Linked DNA regions of Homo sapiens: region 2 is linked to region 1. Evidence: promoter capture Hi-C in human tissues and cell types (Jung and others, 2019). All regions are on one chromosome and are shown on one strand. The core of a region is centred on a gene start or on the middle of the fragment in contact, and the rest is flanking DNA. Distances in the headings are between cores, read along the strand shown. Region 1 holds the start of NEUROG3 (neurogenin 3). Region 2 has its middle 9.9 kb from the start of TSPAN15.

Region 1 (3,244 bases), core at 285-2,784:
AGCTGCAACCCCTCACTCTGAGTGACCGGAAGCAGAAGACCACGGGATGTCCCAGGCGGGGACAAGAGGAGGGGCTGGGGAAGAAAGGAGGGATGATGAGTTCAGAGTCCCTTTGGAAAGGTTTCCAGAGAGCGCTACCAGGGACAACCCAAGGGGCTGGGGAAGTCCCTGCCTTGTGCTCTCTGTGCGATGCCCGAGTGATGCAGAGGCAGGGGGCTGGAGCAGGTGACTGCTGGCAGCTGCTGTCTGTCTGTGATTGGACCGGAGGACTAAGGGGAGAAAAAGTTTATCAGCTTCTCCCAGTGCCTGCACGCTGTGGTAGTTCAAAAGACACGAGGGGGAGGGGCACAGCAGCTCTGCTTCCCAGCGCCTTGGGAGACTGAAGTGAAAGGAACGCTTGAGCCCAGGAGTTCGAGACCATCCTGGGCAACAAAGCAAGACCGCCCCTCACCCCATACAAAATAAAAATACAAATAAATTAGCCGGGCACAGTGGCGCATGCCTGTAGTCTCAGCTACTGGGAAGGCTGAAGTGGGAGGATAGCTTGAGCCCAGGAGATCAAGGCTGCAGTGAGCTGTGATTGCACCACTGCAGTCCAGCCTGGGCGACAGAAGGAGACCGTTTTTTGGTTTTGTTTGTTCGTTTAAAAAAAAAAAGAAGCAAGAGCTCACTGTGAACTCCTGGTTCCTTCCTCCCCTCCTCACACTTCCCAGAACTCTTCCTGTCACGGTTCCTGGCCAGAACGCTGGGATACTATCTACAAGCTGTAGTAGGCTTGTAGTAATGGAATGTCCGCTTGAGGGGTCCCCGCACAGCCAACCCCTGCCTCTGGAGTGGGATCTATGGGGGTGGGGTTCTAAGCGCCTCTGGGGAGTGTGAGGTAGCATCTCAGGGTGTGGCAGAGGCTCGGACACCCCCAAAAGGTCTGCGAATGGAAGGGACATAGGCAGGATCTCTCTCAGTGATGTCCCCTGTCTTCCAGGATGAAGAGAGGCAGTGAAACACCAGGAGAGCAGGGCGTCCTTTAGAATTCCTGGACCCTTCTCCAGGCTGCTAGTCAGGACAATGAGCTCGTGGTTGTCTTTGCCACTATCTTCCTGTGCGATTTCAGACAAGCCACCTCCCTCACTAAGCCTAAATTTCCCCATGTGTAACGTGCAGGCATTGTACCCTAGAGGCATCAAAGTCCCCTCCAGGACAGATGCTAAGGAAAGATAGGCTAGGAGCAAAGCCGTCTGAGGTGGCCTGACCAGAGCCACACGAGGCTCTTCTCACTGGGCGAGGCTCTTTGAGGAACCGAGAGTTGCTGGGACCCAGCCCGCCCTCGAGAGAGCAAACAGAGCGGCGCTCCCCTCCCCCGACCCCGGCCCTTTGTCCGGAATCCAGCTGTGCCCTGCGGGGGAGGAGCGGGCTCGCGTGGCGCGGCCCCAGGGCCCCGGCGCTGATTGGCCGGTGGCGCGGGCAGCAGCCGGGCAGGCACGCTCCTGGCCCGGGCGAAGCAGATAAAGCGTGCCAAGGGGCACACGACTTGCTGCTCAGGAAATCCCTGCGGTCTCACCGCCGCGCCTCGAGAGAGAGCGTGACAGAGGCCTCGGACCCCATTCTCTCTTCTTTTCTCCTTTGGGGCTGGGGCAACTCCCAGGCGGGGGCGCCTGCAGCTCAGCTGAACTTGGCGACCAGAAGCCCGCTGAGCTCCCCACGGCCCTCGCTGCTCATCGCTCTCTATTCTTTTGCGCCGGTAGAAAGGTAATATTTGGAGGCCTCCGAGGGACGGGCAGGGGAAAGAGGGATCCTCTGACCCAGCGGGGGCTGGGAGGATGGCTGTTTTTGTTTTTTCCCACCTAGCCTCGGAATCGCGGACTGCGCCCAGTGACGGACTCAAACTTACCCTTCCCTCTGACCCCGCCGTAGGATGACGCCTCAACCCTCGGGTGCGCCCACTGTCCAAGTGACCCGTGAGACGGAGCGGTCCTTCCCCAGAGCCTCGGAAGACGAAGTGACCTGCCCCACGTCCGCCCCGCCCAGCCCCACTCGCACACGGGGGAACTGCGCAGAGGCGGAAGAGGGAGGCTGCCGAGGGGCCCCGAGGAAGCTCCGGGCACGGCGCGGGGGACGCAGCCGGCCTAAGAGCGAGTTGGCACTGAGCAAGCAGCGACGGAGTCGGCGAAAGAAGGCCAACGACCGCGAGCGCAATCGAATGCACAACCTCAACTCGGCACTGGACGCCCTGCGCGGTGTCCTGCCCACCTTCCCAGACGACGCGAAGCTCACCAAGATCGAGACGCTGCGCTTCGCCCACAACTACATCTGGGCGCTGACTCAAACGCTGCGCATAGCGGACCACAGCTTGTACGCGCTGGAGCCGCCGGCGCCGCACTGCGGGGAGCTGGGCAGCCCAGGCGGTTCCCCCGGGGACTGGGGGTCCCTCTACTCCCCAGTCTCCCAGGCTGGCAGCCTGAGTCCCGCCGCGTCGCTGGAGGAGCGACCCGGGCTGCTGGGGGCCACCTTTTCCGCCTGCTTGAGCCCAGGCAGTCTGGCTTTCTCAGATTTTCTGTGAAAGGACCTGTCTGTCGCTGGGCTGTGGGTGCTAAGGGTAAGGGAGAGGGAGGGAGCCGGGAGCCGTAGAGGGTGGCCGACGGCGGCGGCCCTCAAAAGCACTTGTTCCTTCTGCTTCTCCCTGGCTGACCCCTGGCCGGCCCAGGCCTCCACGGGGGCGGCAGGCTGGGTTCATTCCCCGGCCCTCCGAGCCGCGCCAACGCACGCAACCCTTGCTGCTGCCCGCGCGAAGTGGGCATTGCAAAGTGCGCTCATTTTAGGCCTCCTCTCTGCCACCACCCCATAATCTCATTCAAAGAATACTAGAATGGTAGCACTACCCGGCCGGAGCCGCCCACCGTCTTGGGTCGCCCTACCCTCACTCAAGTCTGTCTGCCTCTCAGTCTCTTACCACCCCTCCTCCAATGTGATTCAATCCAATGTTTGGTCTCTCAGCGCTTACTCCCCTTGCCTTGCTCCAAAGACGCTGCCGATCTGCTCTACTCCCAATCAGGTCCGGGATTTCAGGGCGCCTCACTCTGCCTTAAAGCCACGAAGGCGACCCTCTGCCTTCTCCTCGTGCACTTTTCGGAGCCATTGCCCTCCCGGGGCGGAAGACCAGGCTGTGAACTGGGAAAGCGCTAGCCCGGCCAGGGAGCATCTCCCCAGCCTCCCTGCGAACTGCGCCTGAAACGTGAGCTGCGCTGCA
Region 2 (3,244 bases), core at 435-2,934, 130 kb after region 1:
CCATCCTGGATAACACAGTGAAACCCCATCTCTACTAAAAATACAAAAAATTAGCTGGGCATGGTGGTGGGTGCCTATAGTCCCAACTACTCAGGAGGCTGAGGCAGGAGAATCGCTTGAACCCAGGAAGCAGAGGTTGCAGTGAGCTAAGATCGCTCCACTGCACTCCAGCCTGGGCAACAGAGCGAGACTCCATCTCAAAAAAAAAAAAAAAAAAAGAAGTTAAAGTGCCCCCTGACCCAGCAAGCAATGTGCTTTTTACTCCAATGCAGTTGTAGCCCCAGCTATGTTAGAATAAAATCATTTAACTAAGTGGTTAAAAAGCAAATTGGAACAATACACTCAGCTCAAATATTGGCAGTTCAATACTGGTTGGAGTTGAAACTTTACATGGAGAGGCAGGTTACTGCAAAATAGTAGTTCCAAGAGATTTTAAGTGTTTGTTTGTTTGTTTTTTAAAAAAGGATCCATTAAATAAGTCTGGGAAATACTGCAGGACTTCTTCATAGCCTTTAATGAGAACGGATGCAGTATTGTGTGTCTCTAAGAGGAAAGAAGGATGTGTAGCCTCTCTCAACTGTATTTGAGGACACAACATTTTCCCCAGACACCAGCTATTAACATCTCAAGGAACTAGCATATCTGGAAATGTACTTCGGGAAATGCTATCCCATGGCACTAGTTCCTAATTCTTTTGAAGTTGAAAGCAACCTCCTCAAAGTTTTATGCTCTATACTTAAGAGGAAAATTAAAGACAACAGTGATTATTTATGTTTTGTGCTTGACTTTGCAAATTACACAACTTATTCTGCAATGATTGTCAAACAACCAGACTAGGCTATGATCACACCGCTTAGGGTCCTGCATGGGGTGATGGGCACACTTTAGTGACTTTGGGCCCGAGGGGATTTGGGACAACAGCCTCCAAGGACATGCAAAATGCTCATTACTCAGAAGGGCCTGGGTCACCCCAGCGGCTTCTTGTTTTGGAAATCCCTCAGAGAGCTGCCTCTAAAAGCCCTGCTCCTTTTGGCTTCCTTTCTGCAGCCCCACCACTGCCCCCACAGAAGGCCGACTGCCCAGATCCTCTTCCATGCATCCCTAGGCCCATTCCTACCTTTGGTTACTGAACAGCCGTCCTTGCAGCCCCCACCCCAGGACTCCTGTCCTTCCTCCTGTCCCCTGCTCTCCCTGCTGAAAGGCTGCTCCTGACTACCAGCTGGGGAGAGTGGATGGCCTCATGAAGACCTAACTGACCAACCATGGTGTCTATTACTGGGTGATTGGCACAACCATGCTGTGAGCCCTGTGCAGTCATTGAAGGTGATGTAGAAAGGTATTGAGTGTGGTGGGAACTGCTCTTCATACCCTGAGGTTCTGTCTGTGTGTTTGGGGGTGGAAGTGGGACATAAGTCAGGTTCTTTAAGTTCTGAGACTTCAGCAGGCTTTCTGGGCCTTTATCCCCATCAGTGGTCGGGGGAGCAGAGAGGTGATACCAGCAGGTGTATGAAGCCTATGGAACCCACAGAGGAACTATCTTCAGCCTTTAGAAGGGGACATCTGGGGAGTCCTGGGGACAATGGCCCAGGCCAGATGACAGAACCAAACTAGAGGGTCTTGAATCTGGCAAGTGGTTATATGCTACAGGAGATGGTCACTCCAGGCTGGGGTCCCAGGGCTGGGAATGCGATCAGGAGCTGGCAGAGCCTGCTAGAGTTCTACTGTGTCCAGTGAGCCTTTTTGAGGCGACAGGCTCTGATTGTGCACTGCCCCTGGGTAATGGCTGGGTGCATGAGTTGGGGAAGGCTAGCGGGTCACTAAGCATAGGGGTGCTGGGCCATTTCATGATGTAATATGATGTACCCTCCCAGTGGGGCGGGTATGTGGGGCAGCACACACAACATTAAGTTCAATATAATAATAACTATTTCCCAAAATATATTGTACCTCCATTTGTAAGGATGAGGTCACACCTCTATAAAAGAACATGGTGGAAGGGAGTTCTCCTCAAATAGAAACATGCAGATGTCAGGCCAGGTACGGTGGCTCACGCCTGTAATCCCAGCACTTTGGGAGGCCAAGGTGGGCAGATCATTTGAGGTCAGGAGCTCGAGACCAGCCTGGCCAACCTGATGAAACCCCGTCTCTGCTGAAAATACAAAAATTAGCCAGGCATGGTGGTGGGTGCCTGTAATCTCACTCTGGAGGCTGAGGCACAAGAATCACTTGTGTACCCGGGAGGCAGAGGTTGCAGTGGGTCAAGATCACACCACTGCACTCCAGCCTGGGCAACAGTGGAAGACTCTGTCTAAAAAAAAAAAAAAAAAAAAAAAAAATGCAGTCATTCTTCTCCCATATGACTAGTTTCCCAGCCTGGACCCCAGGTGCAACTGCGCATCTTTTGGGACTTGTTCATTTTTCGGGTGTGTGTGTGTGTGTGTGTGTGTGTGTGTGTGTGTGTGTGTATGAAACCCTCAGAGAGTAGAGGCAAAATCTTCCCTCACCCTCAGAGGGAAAGCCTCAGAGACCCCCAGGGCCACTTCCCTTCCTGACAGTGCAGGGCTGGCCCTGTACTTGGCATCCGCCGTTGTAAGGTATCTGTCTTCTGGCTGGCTTTCTCTGTCAAAATTTTTTGGATTGCTTGATAGTTTATTATACCTAAAAAAAAGCTTTTAATCTTTTTGGACCCACCTAAATCAGTGCTGTGAGGCAGGGTGTGTAGCTGTTTGTATGCCCAATTACAAATGAGAAAACAGGTTAGACTATTTCCCCAGGTCATTGAGGGAATTAGCAGTAAACCAAGACTGACAGTAGTGATGATTCAAGAGGTCCCAGAGCTGGGAGGATCTTTAGACATAATTGTGTCCAACATCCACATGAGTGGATAGAGAAACTCAAGCTAAAAGGGTGGTGTATTGCTCACGGCTATATATTTAAGTTTGTGTCCTCTTCTATTTATGGGCTGTATTGCACAATAAAATGTTTTCTAAGTGAAAAATATCCTGTTTAATTTTCATGTCTATGATGATTAGTGAGGTTGAGGATATACAGTTCTGAAAATTTCCTGTTTTTATCCTTTGCACGTTTTCCAGTTGAGAGATTCTTGTAAGTAGCCAATGCCAGGTGGCTGGCAGGCTGAGAAAATGCCATTCACACCTCTTATCTCCACAGGAGAGGGGCCCTTCCAGATGAGGAGACTCCAGGCTGATCTTGCAGGGCTTTTTTTTTTTTTTTTTTGTGGGCG

What was found. Contacts are between HindIII fragments. The study calls those that stand out against the background at their distance.
Region 2: a fragment that was not itself captured here is called in contact with the fragment with the promoter of NEUROG3 in region 1 in 1 of the 25 tissues and cell types used here (aorta).

What each region holds. Positions count from the first base shown.
Region 1 is chr10:69,571,712-69,574,955 of GRCh38, reverse strand. It overlaps NEUROG3 (neurogenin 3), which reads left to right and starts at 1,534. Exons shown (of 2, transcript NM_020999.4): 1 at 1,534-1,746; 2 at 1,912-3,244. The coding sequence starts at 1,913. The coding sequence ends at 2,557. It overlaps LOC101929021 (a long non-coding RNA gene), which reads right to left and starts at 1,999. Exons shown (of 4, transcript XR_946037.2): 1 at 1,889-1,999; 2 at 1-74. RefSeq lists a silencer at 1,264-1,483 and an enhancer at 2,741-3,244. The HindIII fragment of the contact is 13,443 bases long and covers 1-3,244 here.
Region 2 is chr10:69,439,980-69,443,223 of GRCh38, reverse strand. No RefSeq gene overlaps it. Among named protein-coding and RNA genes, the nearest start is that of TSPAN15, 9.9 kb to the left of the region's middle. The HindIII fragment of the contact is 5,755 bases long and covers 1-3,244 here.